Regions from separate parts of the Homo sapiens genome. Here region 1 is linked to region 2. Evidence: promoter capture Hi-C in human tissues and cell types (Jung and others, 2019). All regions are on one chromosome and are shown on one strand. The core of a region is centred on a gene start or on the middle of the fragment in contact, and the rest is flanking DNA. Distances in the headings are between cores, read along the strand shown. Region 1 has its middle 34 kb from the start of SNRPB2. Region 2 holds the start of OTOR (otoraplin).

The links. Contacts are between HindIII fragments. The study calls those that stand out against the background at their distance.
Region 1: a fragment that was not itself captured here is called in contact with the fragment with the promoter of OTOR in region 2 in 1 of the 25 tissues and cell types used here (H1 embryonic stem cells).

What each region holds. Positions count from the first base shown.
Region 1 is chr20:16,693,395-16,699,326 of GRCh38, forward strand. No RefSeq gene overlaps it. Among named protein-coding and RNA genes, the nearest start is that of SNRPB2, 34 kb to the right of the region's middle. The HindIII fragment of the contact is 5,333 bases long and covers 41-5,373 here.
Region 2 is chr20:16,743,214-16,750,012 of GRCh38, forward strand. OTOR (otoraplin) reads left to right here and starts at 5,145. Exons shown (of 4, transcript NM_020157.4): 1 at 5,145-5,303; 2 at 5,654-5,793; 3 at 6,690-6,797. The coding sequence starts at 5,189. The HindIII fragment of the contact is 9,309 bases long and covers 697-6,799 here.

The DNA.
Region 1 (5,932 bases), core at 1,457-3,956, 52 kb before region 2:
TAGAAACTAAAAGTCTAGGCTAGTTACGCCCTGTTTGACATTATACACCCTGCTCAGCACCATGCTTGTCTCACAATAAATATTTGACTCAACACTTGAAAAATCCCACAAACATTAACACAAACTTACATTTCTTTCCTTTGAAGCACTTATTTCCATAAGCACTTGCATAGCACTTATTTTTAATATTACTCCATGTTAAACATGGACTAGGCTTACATGAATCATACCCTTTCTTGAATATAAACTGTCAGTATCTGACAGTTTAATATATGAATTTCCTTTTCTCCAATTAAATTTCCCCAGCGCTCCATAAATTCTGGAAATTTTCCTCTTTGGTAACTTCTTCAGTGTCCAGTAGGGTCACCAACTGTCCCAGTTTGCCTAAGACTGAGGAATTTCATGGGATACAGATGTTCAATACCAATGCCAGGACAGTTCCAGGCAAACTGGGACAGTTGGTCACCCAGGTGCCCAGCACAAAGCTGTATTCCTGGTTTGAATTGAATGGAATATTAAAGTTGCGAAGATGTGTTTCAATCACAGCCCTTAACATAGTCACTTGAGAATTGCAGGTACTCCATAAATAATTTTATGACAAAAATGAAGGGTAACAAATTCTGGATATACTTTCTTATGTTCAAATAGCAAACTAAGCAAGTGAATTTTTTTAAGGAACCGTGTGATGTCAGCACATCTCTTTTCTTATATTTCCATGTCTAGTTTGAATGATATTTCTGTTAAGAGTAAAGAAAAATTATGTATTGCTGATCTTGGATAGAGTAGGCCTTAATAGCAGGAGTTCACAGATGCATGGCTGTGCACGCACATCCAAATACACTGTCAAATTATGGACTTCTCAAAAGCTTCCACTGACTTAAGATAGCTATTCTAAAGTTCAAATGCCTATTTTTAAACTTTCTGATGCTCTCTTTCATTCCTTGAAATAACCACAACCTTCTGTGTCTCTGGGGAACATGGCCAAGCTCTTGCTGTGTGGATTTTCCAAGCCTCCGCTCTTACAAGCAGGGCCAGGGCTTTGATTTTGATCTGTGGCTTTGGGGCGGAGGACTCACTCCCTATTGTGTCTTGAGCCTTTGAATGCTTCAGTCACTACAGCATATTGATTTTCTCAACTTCTTCAAATGAGAAAGTGCCTTTGGAATAGCAATAAGGTAGCTCTTTACACACCTCCTGAATAACAATCTCCTTCTGTATCTGTGTGTAGAATAGCCATGCCTCCTTGACTGTTTGTCATTACAACAGGCAGCTTTGCTGTAGTTCACATCACTGTCACCTGGCAAACTTCATGATGCCCTCAGGTTGCCCACACTTTACCCAATAGATATGTTTTTGAAAAGCTGAGGGTTAAACTAATTTATGCAAATCAAATGCTTCTGGTCATATATCTGCGTGGATGTTGTAAAAGAGAACTCATGCAAGGTGGAGAGGGATCCATCCAAGTGATTCACCCCTCTCCCCAGCGGCTGAGATCCTGTGACTCTAGGTTCATTTAATTCTATATTTTATTGATAATTTTAGATATTTTTCATTTTCACTCCTGAGTGATCTTCAATTAGCAATCGTTCCTATAATTTTATTTTTAGTTTAGATTTATTCCTAGGGTTTAGATTTATTTCTAGGGCAATGCCTAGAAGAGGGCCACAGTTCGCAAGGGTGTCATTCACACATACGGATGGAAATACCTTGAGTGTATTGCCTGCCATGAAGTTGGTAGAAGCAGAAGCATCTTCCTTGAGTCTTCTTGACCCATTCTTACTGTCTATGAACATAAATATAGATTTGGATAAGGGAATGAGAAGAAAATCAGGGCACCTTTGGCCCAGGCCATGCACAAGGTACAGTCATAGTGGAATTTGCAAGCAAAATGGGTCCAAGGAGTTGAACCGAGAATAAAATCAAGACCAATTAAAGAGACCACAGGTTTTCAGTTTGGCATTTAAGCATTTGTAATCATCATGCCAACCTTCCTTTGAGATCAGTGGATGTCCAGGGTATACCCCAAACTAAATGAGCCAGAATCACTGGGGTGGGACCCAGATATCAGTATTTTAAAAAATTACCCAGGTGTGCAGGCAAGTCTGAGAATCACTTCTGAGTAAAAGATGGTAAAATAGTCTCAGTTTCTGGAGAAAAGGCCAGCGTACTCTGTGGTACAGTGGAAAGACTATTGGAAAGACTGTAGAGATAGCTGCCAGTAATGGGATTTTCTTTTGGGTTTGGTGCTTTATTTCTACTCCTCACAACAATGGCATGAGATAGATATTCACATTAGGTCCAATTTATGTACCTTTTCACATTTCCTCAGTTTCAAATTTCTCTCCCTGGAGAATCATGCTGCCATAACCATTAACTTATCTTTTGTTAATCCACGAATGTGTTCTTGCCAACTCATCAAGGTTGCCCTACCCTGGGCGTGTGAAGATAGTGTGTTCCACACCATGGACTTGGGATTGTGACCTTAACTCTTTGCTGCTGCTGTGCATCCTCTGTGATTGAATGACTGGCTGTGTCCTTTTGTGGTCTGCTCATTAATTCACCCCCTTGTATTTGCTCTCCTTCTATGCCTCTCTCACTTTTTTTTCCTCCTCACTCTTACGGCCCTGGGATTGGAACCCACAGTAAAATGTTAAAAGGAATATTTGTCACATGTTTGATTTTTGAAAGGGCCCAAGCTAAGACAGTATTATTATCCAATAAATACTCATCTGTCAATTTCCAAAGTGCATATCCTTTTTATTATTTTCCTTCTTTGCTTTTTATTATTTTCCTTCTTTGCTGCCTTCTAGGAAAGAGAACTGGATCCTGACTTCTGCTTTGCCACTAACTTGTAATATAATCTTATGCAAGTCATTTTTCTTCCCTAAACCTCAGTTTTCTCATCTATAAAATGAGAAGGTTAGACTCTCAGATAGTCTGAAATTTTTGGATTCTATGATTCTATGGACACTTTGAACAGTTGAATGAAGCCTATGGATCTTTTTTCACAATTATGTTTTAAAATGCACTGAAATACACTTGTTAAGATATTATATAGGTAAGTGTATATCATAAAATGTTTTCTATTTCAAGCTAGACAACACCTAGCATAAAATATTTTTGGTATGGTAATATATGTACTTCTTTACTCATATATTAAATAGCCACTTATTTAATAACTATGATAATGTTCTGTAGTGATGAGAATAAATGATATTTCAAGATGACGATAAGAAAGCAGCCCTGAAAGCAGCTAGGCTGTAATGATCCAGTTGAAATAAACAAGACTCACAAAATATAAATGATGATCAGATAAGTTCACTGTGTGACCATAATTACAGAAGATAAAGACAAGGATACTTTCTAGAGCCACAAAACACCTTCCTCTTACAATGGACGCAAGTGACTGCTGCTTCTTGATCAGTTACAGCCCTCACCTTGCTTTAATAAAAATTACCTAGATACCCAATCACTGAATTATTTCTCTTTACAGTACCCAGTTCAAAACCTGTCCCTGTCCCACTCCTTAAGACCTCCTAGAAGCACTCACAAGAAGCACAGTCCCACAAGAATCCTTCTCTAACTCCTGCTTGTCCTGACATCCCACGGCTCCCCTGGCTTGGTCTGCCCTTCAGTGCAGCCATCTAAATACAACTAAACATTTGGACCATGGTTGTGTTCCTGGTGGGCTTTAATTTCTGCAACAACCATAATGTGATGTGAGAATACCTGATTGATTTCTACCAAGGACAATATAATTGTGGAGGCGAGATTAAAATCTAAGCACTCCAGCTTTAGAGATTGAACTCTTAATCCTCTGTGCTCCCCAGCCTCTAGGCATACAAAACTTTAAAAATACACAAAACATAAATAATCACAACCAGTGATGAACTATTCCATACACAACATCCGTAAAGGCATGCTTGAGTTAGGGGAGAGATCTTAATTGGGACCAAAATAACAACCACAAAAACCAGTCATGGTAGAAAAGGAAATAATGCAGCTATATCAATAACAACAATAACATTTTCCATTTGTATAGTCCTTTCTACATTACTGAACCCTCTGTATATGAGTCTCAGCATAGTGAGGGCAGACCCTCCATCCAGGTTTTCTGGGGCATAGCCTAAGTCATTCTTTTACCTACAGGATCTAACGTAATAATTCCCATAGAGAGAAGACGGCTTCTTCTCAGCTCATTGTTGAAGCTTCACTATTTAGATTTATATTCAGCCAATATTTACTAAGTGCTATTATGGACTAAATTGTGTACCCCTCCCCTGGCAACAAATTCATATGTTGAAGCCCCAACTCCTGATATGTATTTGGAGGAAGAGACACCAAGGATGCACACATAGAGAAAAGGCCATGTGAGGATACAGCAAGAAGGTGGCCATCTGCAAGCCAAGGAGAGAGACCTTAGGTGCAATCGATCTGCCAGCATCTTGATCTTGGACTTCCAGATCCAAGCATTTCTCAGAACTATCAAAAATACATTTCCGTTAAGTCATCCAGTCTGGTAGTTTGTTATGGCAGCACGAGCAAACTAATACAAATGACTAATGAAAGTGCTAATAATTTTACAAGTTACTTCTTTGAACTATTGAAACTGACCCCGTTTTCTCATAGACAGTTTTTGTTGTTGCTGTTGTTGTTGTTGTTTTTGGATAAGCATAGAAATTGATCCTCCTCGTCTTAAACCTGAAACTTACAATTACTTGTCTTGTCTGAGCTTCTTCCTCTGGAAACCAACCCTCATGCCTCCCAGATGGTATCAAGGAACTGAAACTCCTTTTCCTTAATTCCTGTTTTCCCAGACATTTCTGCATTCCTTCTCTGCTACATAAATCCCCAGTTTTAGTCAGTTAGGGAGATGGATTTGAGAGTTATCTCCCATCTCCTCAGCTGCAGCACAGGAATAAAAAGCCTTCCTCCCTGACAATACTCGTGATCTCAGAGACTGGCTTTCTGTGTGGCAAGCAAGCAGACCTAGACCGAACCCCTGGCATTTTGGTAACACCACTGCAACCAGAGTATAGTCAAACCAGTTTCTACTGGCTTGTGAGAGCCACTTTTTAAATTTAAAAAAAATTTTTAAAAATAGAGACAGGGTCTCACTGTGTTGCCCAGGCTGTCCTTAAACTCCTGGGTTCAAGCGATTCTTCTTCCTCAGCTTCCCAAAATGCTAGGATTATAGGCATGAGCTACCACACTCAGCCTTTTTTAGGAATCTTGTGAGCTGGTTTTTAAAGCAGCCATTAGGAAAAAAACTACCTAAACTTACAATCAAGTAAGTTATATTAAAAACAAAAGTAAGGCTGGCACAGTGGCTCACGTCTGTAATCCCAGAACTTTGGGAGGCTGAGGTGGGTGGATCACGAGGTCAGGAGTTCGAGACCAGCTTGGCCAACATGGTGAAACCCTGCCTCTACTAAAAATAAAAAAATTAGCTGGGCATGGTGGTGCATGCCTATAATCCTAGCTACTCAGGAGGCTGAGGCAGAAGAATCGCTTAAACCCAGGAGGTAGAGGTTGCAGTGAGCTGAGATTGCACCACTGCACTCCAGTCTGGGGAACAGAGTGAGATTCTGTCTCAGAAAAAAAAAAAAAAGTGATAAATACTCAAAACTCACCACTTCCTAATTGTTTTACTACATTTTGTATTTTACATATTTGTATTTTTATCTATGTTTATATTTTACTACATTTTACATTTTTTATTCTGCATGTGCTTGAAGTTATTTATGTCTATTGTGTCTGAAATACTACATAGTGATGTGCTACTGTGCACCTCTTCTCAACTCTGTGTTCAATAATATCGGGTGAGTGGTTTGAAACAGGCCATGGTGGGAGTATTTACACCATGGAAATGGACAAACAGTACAAATCAGGTTTTGTTTTGTGTTGTTTTTCCCCAGAGAGCTATTGTTAA
Region 2 (6,799 bases), core at 3,895-6,394:
TACAAAAAGAAAAAAAATAAGCTGGATGTGGTGGTGTGTGCCTGAAGTCCCAACTACTGGGGAGGCTGAGGCAGGAGGATTGCTTGAGCCCAGGAGGTTGAGGTTACAATTATGTGTGATCATGCCACTATGCTGCAGTCCGGGCAACAGAGTGAGACCCTGTCTCAAACAAAACAGGAAATAATCCCATATTATCATCCAATCCAAGTTTTGTTTATATTCCAATAATGGCTCAAGAATCCAATCCAGGATTGTGTTGCATGTAGTTGTCATGTTTCTTTAGCCTCCTGTTGATTCCTCAGCTTCTCCTTGTCTTTCATGATGTGAATTTTATATAGAGATAGTCTGTCTACCTCTGGATATATCTACACAGTTATGTTAAAAACTATGAATGTCTAAGAATGTCTCTGCAGTCTTAACAGCACTGAGTTCATCCTGGCTCTCCCCCTTCCCCTGTGTATAAATCACTTCTCCACCAGTCCCATTAACTTCAATATATTATATTTGCTAATTTTCCCAAATCTTTCCTGTGCAATCAAACTCTATAAGGCTTCAATAGGGAGCAGGGGAAAGGAAAAAGGAGACAGCAATGCTTTAAAGAAGATTTGGTCAAACCAAGATCTTTTGACCTTCCCTATCTCATCCATCTTTTGGGAGTGTGAGTTTTGAGGAATGATTGAAGGGAGTAGATGTTATTTAATATAGTGGTTCTTAACTTTGGCTGCATATTAGAATCATCTGGGAGCCATTTTCAAATACCCATGCTCAATCTACACCCCAGATCAATTAGTCTCCAGGGATGAAACGTAGTCATCAATATTTTTATAAACCCCCCTCCCCCCCCAGGGTGATTCCCTTGTCACCCAAGATTAAGAACTAACAAAGCAGGTTTCTACTTTCATGAAGTAGGGCATCATAGATCATTGACTCAAATGGTGTTTTTCAAAAGTAGTATATTGATAAATAGAGGATAATGTTAATTCTGGAAATGGTTGTGATGCAGGGCAGGCAAGCCTCAAACTTGGGGCTTAGCCCAGGAGGATTCTTGGCTTCATCCAGGAAAGAATTCAAGGGTGAGCTCATGGTGGTAAACAGCAGTCTTTTGGTAAATAGTGTTGCCCCTTGCAGAGCAGGGCTAATTCATACACGGTGTGCCCAGAGTTGGCAAAGTATTGGCTCTTGGCAACTGCATTTATACCCAGTTAAACTCACTTTCGGTCACATGCAAATTAAGGGGAGGCTCAATACAAATTGAGGGGCAGATTATTTAGAACTTTCTAGGAAAGGAGTGGTAACTTCTGGGTCATTGCCATGGAAAGGGGTGGTAATTTCCAGGTTGTTGCCATGGCATTTGTAACTGTCATGGCACTATGGGAGTGGCTTATGCTAATAAACAATGAAGACAGCTGAGGATCGCTTTTCTTGACATCTCCTTGTCCCTGCTGGTTTCTTCACTTTTTACTGCCTGGACCAGATCCTGTTCTGGTCAGCAGGGTGGTGACCAGAAAACAAGTTCTTCTGGTCTCCTACCTCAGTTGCAAGAAACTCAAAACTCCATTTTAAACTTTAAGCCTTATAGTATCTTCTGTTTGAGTATTTAACAAGCATTTGTTTTTCCTTGAAAATATATCCAGCCAAGACCTTATGAAGAATGTGAGCTAAAATTACGGTATTTTACTTGCCTGGAAACAGTACTTCTCAAATGTTAATGTGCATACAGGTGACTTGAGTATCTCATTAAAACGTAGATTTAGATTGTGTCTCCGGGGTGAGGTCTGAGAAACTTCATTTCTATAAAGTGATGTCAAAGTTACTGGTCTGGGGACCATGTTTTGGTGGCAAGTTGCAAGACCCCAGAGTTTCTACCCTAATGATTTATTCAATGACTCTTAGAGGTGTTATCAATCTGTTTTTAAAGCCAGGGACTTTGCCCAGGGGAAAAATGCATGCATACACACACACACACACACACACACACACACACACCCCTATGCGTACAATTTCGGAGCAATTGTGCATTCATTCAGTGAATACCTATTTAATGCACACCAAGTATCTTTCCGGGTGCTAATGACAGAGTGAGGAACAAGATAGCAAAGATGCCTGCCTTGTGGAGCTTTCATTATACTGTTGGTTGGAAGACAAACTAAGTAAATAAAGCAGGCATGTCAGCTATGATACATGCCTTAGGACAGTGTACTGCAGCCACGTGATACAGGGATTGGGTGGAGGAAGGTTTGAAGTGGCTCTTTTAAATTGTTCTGTCTGTGGAGGCATCTTGGCCAGGAACCTGAATGCCAGTATCTGGGGAAAAGCATCCTAGGTGGTAAGTTCGGAGCACCTGAAGCAGAAATGAGTTTAGTGTTTTCAAAAGTTAGAGAGAACTGGTATGGGAGGAACAGAGCGAGTGGAGGAGAGAGCAAAAGGTGAAATCCCAGAGGTAGAAGGGCCTGATCCTACAGGAGCTTGTAGGCCATGACAAGGAGGCTGCCTGCACTTGACCGAGCCCATGCTTAGATCCTAAAGGAGCCATGGCCTCCATTTAAGAACTCCAGACAGAGAATCTAATTTAGGAACTGAAGGGGAAAAATGTCATTTAGGGATTGAATGTTTGGAGAATACGTCTGAAAATCTAGAGGAACGAGTATGAAAACTGGGGCCAGAACCCTCACTGAACCCCCAGTGGCCCCAGTGTCTTTGGCATAACTGCCAGACACAGCTACTTGCTGAATTATTGCAAGTTCAAATTCCTATTTGCATGCAATTTTACCAAGAAGCCTCTAGCTTCTGTCCTGTGTCTGCCACTTTAGAATGCCAGAACACCACAAGCTTTCCCAGGCTGCACTCAGAAGGCTTGGTTATCTCATTACTTTATTTCTTCACCTTCAAATGTCCAATAATGGCTTCACGTTAGCATTAGCCTGATTTTCTAAGTTGTGATAGCTTGAATGTCACATTTTGCTTTTTGTTTTTAATCATTTTATCCTGCTTTTGGGGATCTGTATATGCTCCCCAATGGGGAGTTTTTGCAGTCCCCATTTCTTCAAGTGCCTCTTAAATGACAATTGTCTTTTAACTCTCCTATGCTGAGGGCTGGTTTGAGACTGGAACAGTCCATAAAACAGCTGCGCAATCAGGATTAAGAAGATTTAATCAATGCTTTAGTTTTCCCAGAAATTTAGACCTTTAGATTGATTACAGGGGAAAAATTGGAAAGGCATTCTGCTTTCAAAAATAATATCGAATTCAATCTTTCCTTGATGTGAAACAGGAAATAAATGATTTATTCTAATTTGTCAATTCCAAGTTGACAACAATGAATTGAAATAGCATTGAACCATGATCCCTCTGGTAACCTTTAGATAGGATGGTTCAAAATGACCACTTTAGGACAGGTGCGGTGGCTCATGCCTGTAATCCCAGCATTCTGGGAGGCTGAGGAGGGCGGATCACTTGAGGTCAGGAGTTTGAGACCAGGCTGGCCAATATGGTGAAACCCCGTCTCTACTAAAAATACAAAAATTAGCTGGGCATGGTGGTGCACACCTGCCAGCCCAGCTACTTGGGAGGCTGAGGCAGCAGAATTGCTTGAACCCTGGAGACAGAGGGTGCAGTGAGCCGAGATTGCACCAGTGCACTCCATCCTGGGTGACAGAGCAATACTCCATCTCGGAAAAAAAAAAAAAAAAAAAAAGCAACAAAAAACAAAAAGACCACTCTGGCATTTGCTGTGCCTCAGTTTCCTTGTCTATAATGAAGGTATGAATAAAACAGACTTTCCAATCAGGACCAGCTATATAAAAGATCCTCCCTTGAAAGTCACACACACATACACACACAGCCACACACACACACTCACACACAGCCACACATACCCACACCCATACCCACACCAAAACTCTTTTACATACACACACAGATGCACTCAAACCAATACAACTCTATCACACACACACATATACCCAAAACAAAAAACCTTTTTATTATATTTTGCCTTACCCATTTATCCCTTGGGAAATTGTATTGCACAAAATTATTTAGTAAGTTAAATTCTTGTCCCTCATTTTATGAGGTTACGACTTTGGGGTTGGGGGAGAAGGCACTGCTCCGAAGTCACATCATCAACCAAGGTGGAGAAGGCATCCTGAGAGGATCTCTATTCTAGAAGCAATGGATAAGAACAGGGGAAGGGCCACCTTATGGGAGAGATGCCAGCCTCAAACACCCTATAAAAAGCAGTAACTTACTGTCTGTCTCTTCTAATAGAAAGCAACACTTGGGGCCAAAATATTTTTTTTAAATTTACTGCTATATCTTTAGTGCCCAGAACTATACCTGGCACAGTAAGTGCTCAGTAAATATTTGCTGAATAGACGGAGCTAGGGACTGGCGGTTCCACTTTGGTGCCTCTAGGAGTGCTCCTCTCCCCATGGGAAACATGCTCAGAAGCAGGAAGTTCCAGGTAACATAAACTTGTAACTTCACTCTCTTCTCTTTGACCTGTCACCCTTGAGCATTTGAGACTGAATTGCAAAAGTCTTAGAGAGAAGAGGTAGGGGAAAGATTGACCTATTTTTCCCAACCCACCCATCTCTTTCCCCACTGGTAGGGTCTAAATGGGGCATCAATTAGTATGTTAGAATTCATCTCTAGCCTGGGACAGGCATGCCTTCTAAGAATCCTATCATGAAAGATTTGTAAGCATAAGAATCTTTCATTTATCTATTACGTAAATCCAGATTTATTAATTGAATTTGTTTAAATCAAATTATTTGTGCTATAGATCTCACATTTTCAACAAATTCCTACAACTAGTATGTCTTTGCTCATAAGCTGAAGGAAAATTAGGGGTGAATTAAAACTAAAAATGGTTTGAAATTCTCATAGTCCTCTCAGCAAAGCCCTACTGATTGATACAATAGACCACTGCTAAAGCGGCTTTAACAATAGTGGACCATTTTGGATATTATCTGTGTATAGAAAGACACAGAGTTTGACTCTGTTTGGAAAATCAGACGCTAAATAGCCCCTGAAGCCGAGCAGCCTGTTATGAAAACGGAGGGGTGGTAGGCCCTTCTAATTGGCCAGGGTATTTACCCAGAGCTCTGGCTTTCACATAAAAGGCAGGAACCACTGAAGTCAGTCCCCGCTTCCAGTCAGAGTTCAAGTTAAAACAGAAAAAAGGAAGATGGCAAGAATATTGTTACTTTTCCTCCCGGGTCTTGTGGCTGTATGTGCTGTGCATGGAATATTTATGGACCGTCTAGCTTCCAAGAAGCTCTGTGCAGATGATGAGTGTGTCTGTAAGGACTTTTTTATGCTTTTCATTATCTTTCTATTACATAATTGAAAATATATCCACTAATAGCATAAAATCGAATTATACTTTGAAGTGAATCTTCTCCAATGTGTATGTTATCAGCTTTGTTTCTTCTGGTCTGCATGTTTGGTATCTTACTACGGAGAATTCACTTGGCTGAGTTTTGTTGCAGCTTTAATATCTTGGCTGTCTTCTTTCTCTTGGATAGACACCAGCTATGAACTGGGAATTATCAGTCACTCTGATTTTCTAGTTTTTCTAATATACATTGCCTTTTACTGTTATAAAATTCAGGAGCCTAAAATGTAATCATTTAAATTTTTTTTCTTCCAGATACTATTTCTCTGGCTAGTGCTCAAGAAGATTATAATGCCCCGGACTGTAGATTCATTAACGTTAAAAAAGGGCAGCAGATCTATGTGTACTCAAAGCTGGTAAAAGAAAATGGAGCTGGAGAATTTTGGGCTGGCAGTGTAAGATAATTTAAACACCTATTGACGAATATTGCTCTTAACCTTTCCTTGATTACCTACCTTCAACCTATTTTAATGCTTAATACTAGTTGTTAAGAACCATGTAGTGATTGTAGATGGAAATGCAAAAATTCAGGTATATTTGCTATTGCATTTTAAAGAAAGAAAGATCAATTTCGTAACAAAACCAAATGTAGGTTAATGTGATATTTTGGTAAAAAAAGAGTCAAATACATGGGGGCTTAAACATCCCAAAGAATTTGAATCTTATCCGAAAACGTCTGAGAAGATTTGCCAAGTAGAAGGCATGTGTGTTGGCAGTGAGTCTAAGTATCAATATTCTTTTAGGAAACTTTGCACCCTAATTAATTCGAAAGAATCAGCGTTCTTCAGTTAAAATATACAGGGGCGGTCCCTGGGGAGGGATGAAGCAGGGATGATTTTCTGTCCTCATCTGCAACCCTAAAGGTAAGTTCTAAATTAATGAAGGATTAAATTTAAAGCCATTTAAGTCTGTTCATTTGAATTGTTGAAAACTGAGAAATTTGCATCATTTAAAATAAGTGTCTACAGTACTTTAAAAAAATGTACTGTCTTTATATATTTATTTATGGGTTCAAAAAAGATTTCAGGCAACTCACAAGATTGCGTAAAATAAAGTCATGCTAAAGTAGCGAAATAAGACTGGGCCACTAAACAGTAGATGCACAATTCCTGCGGGTTAACTTAGTGCTCCAAGTAAACTTCGGATTTGCCGCAGCGCCCCCTGGACCCCGGAGTGAAAGGGAGGTATTGGCAGCTATGATTCTCACTATCAGCAAAGAGGACGCCTGCGAGTTTCTCAGAAGACACTCAGCATCAGCTTTTTCCTGATTGCTATTCTTCTGGGCACTTAGGTTTATGGTGATGGCCAGGACGAGATGGGAGTCGTGGGTTATTTCCCCAGGAACTTGGTCAAGGAACAGCGTGTGTACCAGGAAGCTACCAAGGAAGTTCCCACCACGGT